Linked DNA regions of Homo sapiens: region 2 is linked to region 1. Evidence: promoter capture Hi-C in 16 types of primary human blood cells and fetal thymus (Javierre and others, 2016). All regions are on one chromosome and are shown on one strand. Each heading gives the region's core, a stretch centred on a gene start or on the middle of the fragment in contact. The rest is flanking DNA. Distances are from core to core; before and after follow the strand shown. Region 1 holds the start of RBM46 (RNA binding motif protein 46). Region 2 overlaps MAP9 (microtubule associated protein 9).

The links. The method cuts DNA at HindIII sites, captures the fragments that hold promoters and counts their contacts. A CHiCAGO score of 5 or more calls a contact.
Region 2: a fragment that was not itself captured here is called in contact with the fragment with the promoter of RBM46 in region 1 in 4 of 17 cell types (megakaryocytes, endothelial precursors, M1 macrophages and 1 more); the score reaches 5.8 in megakaryocytes.

The regions. Positions count from the first base shown.
Region 1 is chr4:154,779,350-154,783,430 of GRCh38, forward strand. It overlaps RBM46 (RNA binding motif protein 46), which reads left to right and starts at 1,923. Exons shown (of 5, transcript NM_144979.5): 1 at 1,923-2,087. It overlaps LOC105377500 (a long non-coding RNA gene), which reads right to left and starts at 2,524. Exons shown (of 4, transcript NR_188451.1): 1 at 2,440-2,524. The HindIII fragment of the contact is 3,692 bases long and covers 1-3,022 here.
Region 2 is chr4:155,369,550-155,373,630 of GRCh38, forward strand. MAP9 (microtubule associated protein 9) reads right to left here. Exons shown (of 14, transcript NM_001039580.2): 4 at 3,587-3,907. Among named protein-coding and RNA genes, the nearest start is that of MAP9, 5.4 kb to the right of the region's middle. The HindIII fragment of the contact is 1,698 bases long and covers 813-2,510 here.

The DNA of each region.
Region 1 (4,081 bases), core at 673-3,172:
TTAAGTATGGGAAGGGTCTTTAAACAACACTGTCTCATCTATGGCAAGGTTCTATGGTCTGACTGTAATGCCTATTGAGAAGCCCTTGTCTATTTGGTTTTCTTTATACTTGGGGAGAAAAAAGACAAAAAGGGAAACAAGAAAACCAGCAATGTTCAACAACCTTCCAGGCTATTTCCAAGAACAATCTTTGTACCTCACAACATCTCCACCTAGTGACTCCTTAAGGATCTTACAGCCATTCCTAGAAATTACTTGTTTTAAATTGCCACTAATATGCCTAACCTCATTTCAGATAATTTAACCTTAAACACATGTATTTAGAATTAATTACTAGGAATTGAGAAGGTACCGACATGAAAATGAAGAATGAGGAGAATCTTTTTCTGGAGAAATAAAAGAGCAGCAAAAAATAGTAATCAATATAACAATCACAGTTCCCGAGGTACAGAATTGGTGACATGTCAAACAAAGCCAACTAGATCTATCAGTCTAGGTTTTCTAGTTGCTTTATTTTGAATGCATACATCTTATATAAAATGACACTTGTATTCATTGACTAAAGGGCAGACGGCTTACAAAAAATATTTGTTGAGCTTCCAGTGTGCATCAAGTACTATGCCAAGTTTTCTACTTGTTTCTGGACGTATTTTGAGACAGTATAGTATAGCAATTATGTCTGTAGGTTTCAAACTGGAGCCACTTACTTGCTATATGACTTTGCCCAAACTACTTAAGGTTTCTGCATCTGTTTCCCCGTCTGCAAAGTAGGGCTAGTAACTTTACCAAAGTTACTGTGAGAATTAAATGAAAATATGAAAAGTCCTTAGGATTGTTTCTGGCATCTGGCTCAATATTTGGTAATATCATATATTATTTTATTCTCACAATCCCCACTTTAAACAGGGTCTGTCTGGCTCCAAAGTCCCTGCTAATTCCTCACTGTTGTAGTATATTTAAAAATTAAAAATATACTTTAACAAAATTTAAATTGGTAGACATTCATTAGTTCCTTGAATATATGGAGAAAATACATTAGGAGTTAATGTGGAAGAAATCACCTTGAGGTTGGGAATAAGGAGATCTGTGTTACTCGGTGAATATTCTGGGCATGAAGTTCCTTGTTAATTAGAGAATCAACATGAGCTAGGTTCTTTATTGTCTAATATTCCATGAATCTAATATTATCTATACATAAATAGTTGGTTCCTAAAGGTGGTTTTTTCTTTCCTTGTCTGCATTTAATTTCGAGCTGTCTTCAAAGGAAGCAAAACTGAAGTTATGCATACCGAATGCCAAACAACCCTATCTGTGAAAGTTGGTTTTACAAGAGCATAGAACCCAGTTCGGCAGTTCGCCTCTGCCAAATGTCCCTGCAAGCTGATTAGTGGTAGCGTCAAGCCTATCGCTAGTTCTCCTCATCTAACCCATTTTCTTAGTCATTGTCATTTAAACCACTTATACTTTATACTTCTAGTCCTATTTGCAAATCCATCTTTTAGCTTTATAACCCACCTCCCCCTAGCCCTTAATTTCAAAGGTCCACCGGATATATGTGGTTGTTTTGCGCCAAACTAGCAGTTTACAAGAAAACTACATCAAACAAGAAAAAGAACCATTACGATGCATCTATGTTTTCCCTTAAGTGCGGAATTTCACACTGCAGCCCTCGTCTTCAAACACCTAAACAATGCACCTAGGACCTTCATTTATTATTCCGTGCCCACCCACACCCTAAAAATCGCTCTCTTCACCCCAATTGCTCGAAATGCCTGTCACTCCAAGCACTTTGACTAGCCCAAGAGCCTCATTTAAACTTTAGCCCCACTCTCTCCTCCTCGCCCCGCCCCGAAGCTAATCCCTGATTGGATGAGGCACCACTCCTCGTGGGGCTGCTTAGGCCACCGCGCGCGCTGCGCGCTGGGAAACGAGTGGAGACACGAGGACCAGCGCGAGCGGTCCCGGTGGGCTACCCTCCCCCTGCGACGACCCCCCCTCGCTCTGACCGACTGGTCCCCTAAACGGTGGCGGCGGTTTTTGGTCGTTGGGCCCCGGGATTTAGGACCAACATTTGAAGACCCGAAGGGGTGAGGAGGGGAAAGGGGAAACGGGGTCACTACCAGACCACTGCTAACGGCTGGATAGTGCCCGGCTCACTCTCACGCCGAATACACAGTGGGGGCTGGCGGCGGTGGCTGCGGGGTTCACCCTCGTCCTTCCCCAGCCCCGTCGAGCAGTGGGAGGGCAAGTGTCCGAGACGCTGCTTCCTGCCCCGGCAGCATCCGGCCAGAAGGCGCCCTCGCCGTCACCCAGGCGCTGCATGGTGAGGGCCCAGCGGCCAGTCTCTTTGGGGCGTCTGGCGGCCTCTTCCGCCCCGCGGCGCCCTGCGCTCTCCGCCTTATTTCCGCTCTCCCCCGCTGCCTTCCGGCCGCTTCCCACCTGTGCTGCATTTCGTGTTATTTTCCTGACACGCTTACGCCGACGACCAACGACCGCTGCAGGCCCGGGCCGCTGCCTGGCCGTTGTAGGGTCCGCGCGTCCCCTGGAGGCTTTGGACGCCGTCTGGGGCGTCCCGACGGCTGGGTGAGATTCAGCAGTCTGGTTTCAGAATTGAATTCAGGCTGGGTGAGCTTTAGCGGGCTCCTAGTCGTTTGCGTGGAGTTCTAGCCGGGACTGAGCCTCGAACTTTACTTTGCCTTTGTCTCCCTGTTTCTTCCCCGAGTACCTCGTGTGTGCTGGGCTGTGGGCAGTGGGAGGCCGCGGGTGCACAGGGAAGATAGCTCGCCTCTCCCCCGACACACGGACGGCAGCACACGTCGTGGCACCGCCTTTGTTTCCTAACATCTGGTAGTTTTTAAACCCCTAATTTAAAAATGTTTCTTTGGAGCTGCTGGAAAAACCACAGAACCAGCGGCATTTAATCCTGGCGTTGATATTCTGAGATATTGCGAAGCTGCTTGATTTATTTGGGCACCAGTTTTCTCCTATGTAAATTTAGCTTAGGTAATATTTAAGTTCTTTAAGCTTTAACTGTCTTTACATTCTTGATAAATTCCCCGTAACCTTTATGTTATGTGGTAATCCTAATATAGGCAAATATCAAAGAGGAAATATCATAAGGAGTTTTTTTGTTTTGTTTTTTGTTTTGTTTTGAGACGGAGTCTCGCTCTGTCTCCCAGGCGGGAGAGCAGTGGCAGGATCTCGGCTGACTGCAACTTCCGCCTACCGGGTTCAAGCGATTCTCCTGCCTCAAACTCTCGGGAGTAGCTGGGACTACAGGCGCGCGCCACCACGCACAGCTGATTTTTGTATTAGTAGAGACAGGGTTTCACCATGTTGGCCAGGATGGTCTCGATCTCTGGACCTCATGATCCACCCGCTTCGGCCTCCCCAAGTGCTGGGATTACAGGCGTGAGCCATCGCCGCCGAGCTTTTTAAGTCTTGGCTTCTCTTAAAAATTGGCCTGATTTTGTGTTTGAGAATGGCGTTATAACCAGGAAGCAGGATATGTTGCGTGTATAAGGAGAATAACATATAAAGGACATGTTCAAGGGTCTGTAGAATTTTGCTTATTTAAATAATGGGAAGATATTTTCGTTTCAAGAATCACCACGATGTATATACAGTTTGACAGACTTCCATTTGGATCTTTTCAGAATTGAATCTCCTTATGGGGGTCTAATAATAGACTTGTTTTCAGGGCACACGTTTAAAACATTCTACTTTAAACTTTGTTTGCATCTGTCTGCATTTGTTTGCATTGTTAATAAAATTTGTTTGCATCTTTATAGACATAAAGATGACAGTGCTGCCTGCAATCACTAAATATTAATGCTTTCTGCTTAAGGCACTGCTTTGATTGCTGATTTTCACTTAAGAGGTTGGAGTAATGTACTTGAATATTATTGCCAAATATAATACATATCAACACTTAAAATATATGCATTACTGGATATATTATGAAACAAGAATTATTAATAACGAGAACAAACCCAGTTTATGGACTGAAATTAAGTCTCAGGTTTAATGGTGTTATTTTATTGTTAGGAGAAGGAAGACATGTCAGTTTAAGTAGAGTTTG
Region 2 (4,081 bases), core at 412-2,911, 590 kb after region 1:
ACCAAGCCCTGTACACGTTACTAAACCTCATAATCAACAAAGCGGCAATGGACCTGTCCAGGTACTTTACAGGTTGATTTTTCTAAACAAAATTACAAGACTAGATTACTAAGATTATAAGTGCTATTATAAGGACAAAGATGATGATGTTGGCACTCAAGGGATAGGAGTGCTAACTCTCATTAGAGGAAGGAATCTTTTATGAGTTAATTGTTCTGAGTCCATAAAACTTCTTTAGCATTTATTAAAATTTCACTCTTTCCATTACTTCTAAGTTTAAATCAAGAATCAAATGCTGATTTGCATCCAGTATTCGAAACAATGGGAAGACTTTCCATGTATATATTTTTTGCCTGCATTTTACCTGCTATACATATTTATGTTTCTATTGTTCTACAAATGCATTTTTCTCAACTTCAAAATTGGTCTAATTAACATCTTCCTCCCATTTACCTAAAAATGGGCTTATGGATTCTGCCAGAAGATTCCACAACCATACCAAATTGGTATTATTATAAGTAGCTGACAATTTTAGCTACATCCTAAACTCCAGCCAAATGTTCAACCCCAAATCCAAGGGCTCTAGATTCCTCCCTCTATTATCCCCTAAATCCAGAGTATCAATATATCCTATCAATTCTAATTGCCAAATATCTCATTTATTCCACTTTCTACATCCCTGCTGTCGGGTCCTTATCCACTCTTTCCTAGATCACTGCTTCCATGATATTTACAAAATCCAAATCAGATCACATCACTCCTTTCTACAAAATTATTCAATGGCTCCCCATGATCCAATCCTACAGAATAAAAGCTTAACTGCCTTTAAACAACATAAAACGGATTTTATGGTTTTGTCCTTCACTGCCTTATCTACAGCCATTTTGTCATCTGTGTTTCTGAAATGCTGGGCTAACAGTTGTCATGCACACATACCACAATCCCTCCAATCCCTCCTGCTACCATACCTTTACCTAAGCTGATCCCCCTGCCTAGAATATCCACTTCCTGCTTCTCCTCCTGACAAATGCTTGCATGTCTTTTGAGCCTCAGTTTAAGCAGAATATTATATAATGCCTGAAAGAAGGTGTTGAGTCAATTTTTTTTATTATTGTGGTAAGAACAAACATGAGATCTACCTTCTTAATACATTCAGTGCAAAAGACAGTACTGTTAACTATAGGCACAATGTACAGCAGATCTCTAGAACTTACGCATCCCGCATGACTGATACTTTATACCTGCTGAGCATGTTTATAAACAAACGCTAAATAATAAAATGAATAATCAGAACATTTATAGAGTGCTAAATTTATGCCAGTACTATTCTAAGCACTTCAAATATGTGAACTCATTTAATTGCCTCAAACTCCTAGAGGCAGGCAACTATTATCCCGTTTTTAAAGATGAATAAAATGAGAACAAAGAGGTCTCATGCCCAAAGTCACAAACTCTAGCAGGCTGCAGATCTCAGATTAAAGGAGAAGCATCCTGACTCCAAAGTTCATGATTTCAGTCATGTTAGTATTAAAATAAAAACATATCCTGTGAAAAATACTTTCACTTTATAGAGCAACTGTCACTTCAGTAGTGACTATAAAGTCTGGTTATTATACTTTTTACAAAAGACAAGCAAGGACAGAGAAAACCTTCAAGCTCTAATAGTTTCATAAAGCATTACTTGCTACTCAGCAATATCTCACCACATTAAAAACATTGAGTTCCAAACCTGTACAGAAAAAAAAAAAGTCAAAGAATTTAGAGGATAAACTCATGAACCATATTCCCTCTTTCAAAGATAAATCATTCATATATTAATTTATTCATTTAAATACTTATTATATATGCCAGATATTATCTTAGGAACACTAGCCTCAATTTTTACTTTTCAACCTGAAGAACCTGAGAATGACAACTTTAATATATTTTCTACAAAAATTCCACTTCCAGAAGTACTGTCAAGTTCCCAAAAAGAAAAAAAAATGCCTATACTTTAAGAAAAGCGCTTTTTTTGGTAATCAATGTATACAATTACCTATTTAGGTAATTATTTTTATATTACACGTACTGAATATAACATTGCATATATAAGTAGAGCATTTAGGATCCTGATGCCACCTTGTGGTTAAAATACAGTATTTTCTTATTCATTGTAACCCACCACAGGTTTTTTTTTTTTTTAAGGTATGAAATAGGTGGATTATTGCTTTCCTGATTATCTACCATAAACTTCTAATTATATACATCCACCTGTCTCAGACAAATTTTTAGTTGCTATATATGCTCGCATTTTCTTAATAACGAAGTTCAATTATGTTCCTCTTCTCTCCAGCATTGATTTCACTCACTATACTTAGAAGGTACATTTTAACAAGTTAATTGTTTCATTATGCATCTGTTTGCATTTTTGTAGTTTTTTATAGTTTATGAGATGCACTTCAATAAACTCTCACAATTTTGCAGGAATAGAAAGAGGGTTATTTTTAGCTTCCTCATCATGAGGATACTGAAGCTTAACTTATTTGCTGAAGTCATATATAATATACAGAGGCCTTTCCCCCAGTGTCCTGGATATTATTCTAGTGTTCTTTGCTCTGCTTACATCCTTTGCTCATTTCAAAGTTAATGAGATTGTGGGGTCAGGAAGAAAGGAGCAGTTCCCCAATACATGCCTGAAATAAAGTTTTGTCTGACGTTACCACTGGTATCTAATATGCAAAGTATGAAATATTTACCAGCACTGTATTTACTGATGATATGCAAGGAGATTTTTATGAAGGTTAACATCAACTAATAATTCCTTTATAAAATACAAAGAATGAAAAACAAAAAATCCTTAACCTTGCATATACAAGTTCATGAATGGTGGCCCAGGGTATGTGACAGGACTTGGTCTCCGTTTCATTCTATCTTTGTTCCTTTATGCTTAAAATTCAGTAAAATTGTGGGCAGAACTAACTGTAATCCCAGATCACACCAGGAACTTTCCTTTGGAAAACTGAATCTTAGTAGATTTTCATAGGCAATACAGAGATCAAATGGAGATTCTCTTAAGGAGTGCCTGGATGCTTCAACAAACAACAGCAGCAATAACATAACTCATCCTTCAAATATACAAATGTCAAGAAAATTTTCTGGCACAATGTTGGTATGGCAAAGACTGTTAGAAGGATTAGTCTCAATATTGCTGTAACTCTAATCTTTGGAGTGTGAGAGGGATTAGACAGCATTCCATTCCAGTTCCACACCTACAAACAAAACTGAAGCTCACAGGTCTAGGTGTCTGGAGATCCACAGCTATGGATGCTATGGATGACTAAAGGTGCTTTGGCTTTGTGCTTTGGCTTTCTATCAGGCAACAGCCTAGATGCAAGACAAAATACAACAGGTCTGTAAAATTGAAGTTAGACAAAATACAACAGGTCTGTAAAATTGAAGTTAGACAAAATACAACAGGTCTGTAAAATGGAAGTTAAGTCTGTCTTTTTTTCTTAAATATATACTAGCTACCATATAAAAATTTTGGGACTGATTATCTTAAAATAAACTTCCAAGAAATGCAATTACAGTAATCCTAACAAATTACCTGAAGATGTGCTTTTAATTGAAAGAATTCTGGGTTTAGGTTTCATTTTTATTTTGTCTTTTTCAAATTCCTCATCCTTATTTTGAGATTCAGAGAAAGATTTTACAACAATGTCTTCACACCCATCAGGTGCCATTTCCTCTTCATTTTTGATGGCACACACTGGCTCATCTTTGGTTATGTTACCGTTTGATTTATTGGTTTTCAAAAACAATAGTTTTGAAGGATTCTTTTCTTCATCATCTGATATATGAAAGTCATTCATTTTTTTATTAACTGAATTTTCATCTGCTGAAGTGTCAGAAAAATCACCTAAAGAAACTGAAAAATGGAAAAGAAAAATGTTTTCAACAGTATTTTTAAAAATTGTCAAGGTTACGTTAACTTAATCAAAGTTTACCTTAAAAGCTACAAACAAAATTCTAACAATGAATAGGCACAAATGTATTTTATAAATAGACTTGCAGCTCTAAAAACACAGCTAACTCAGGCACG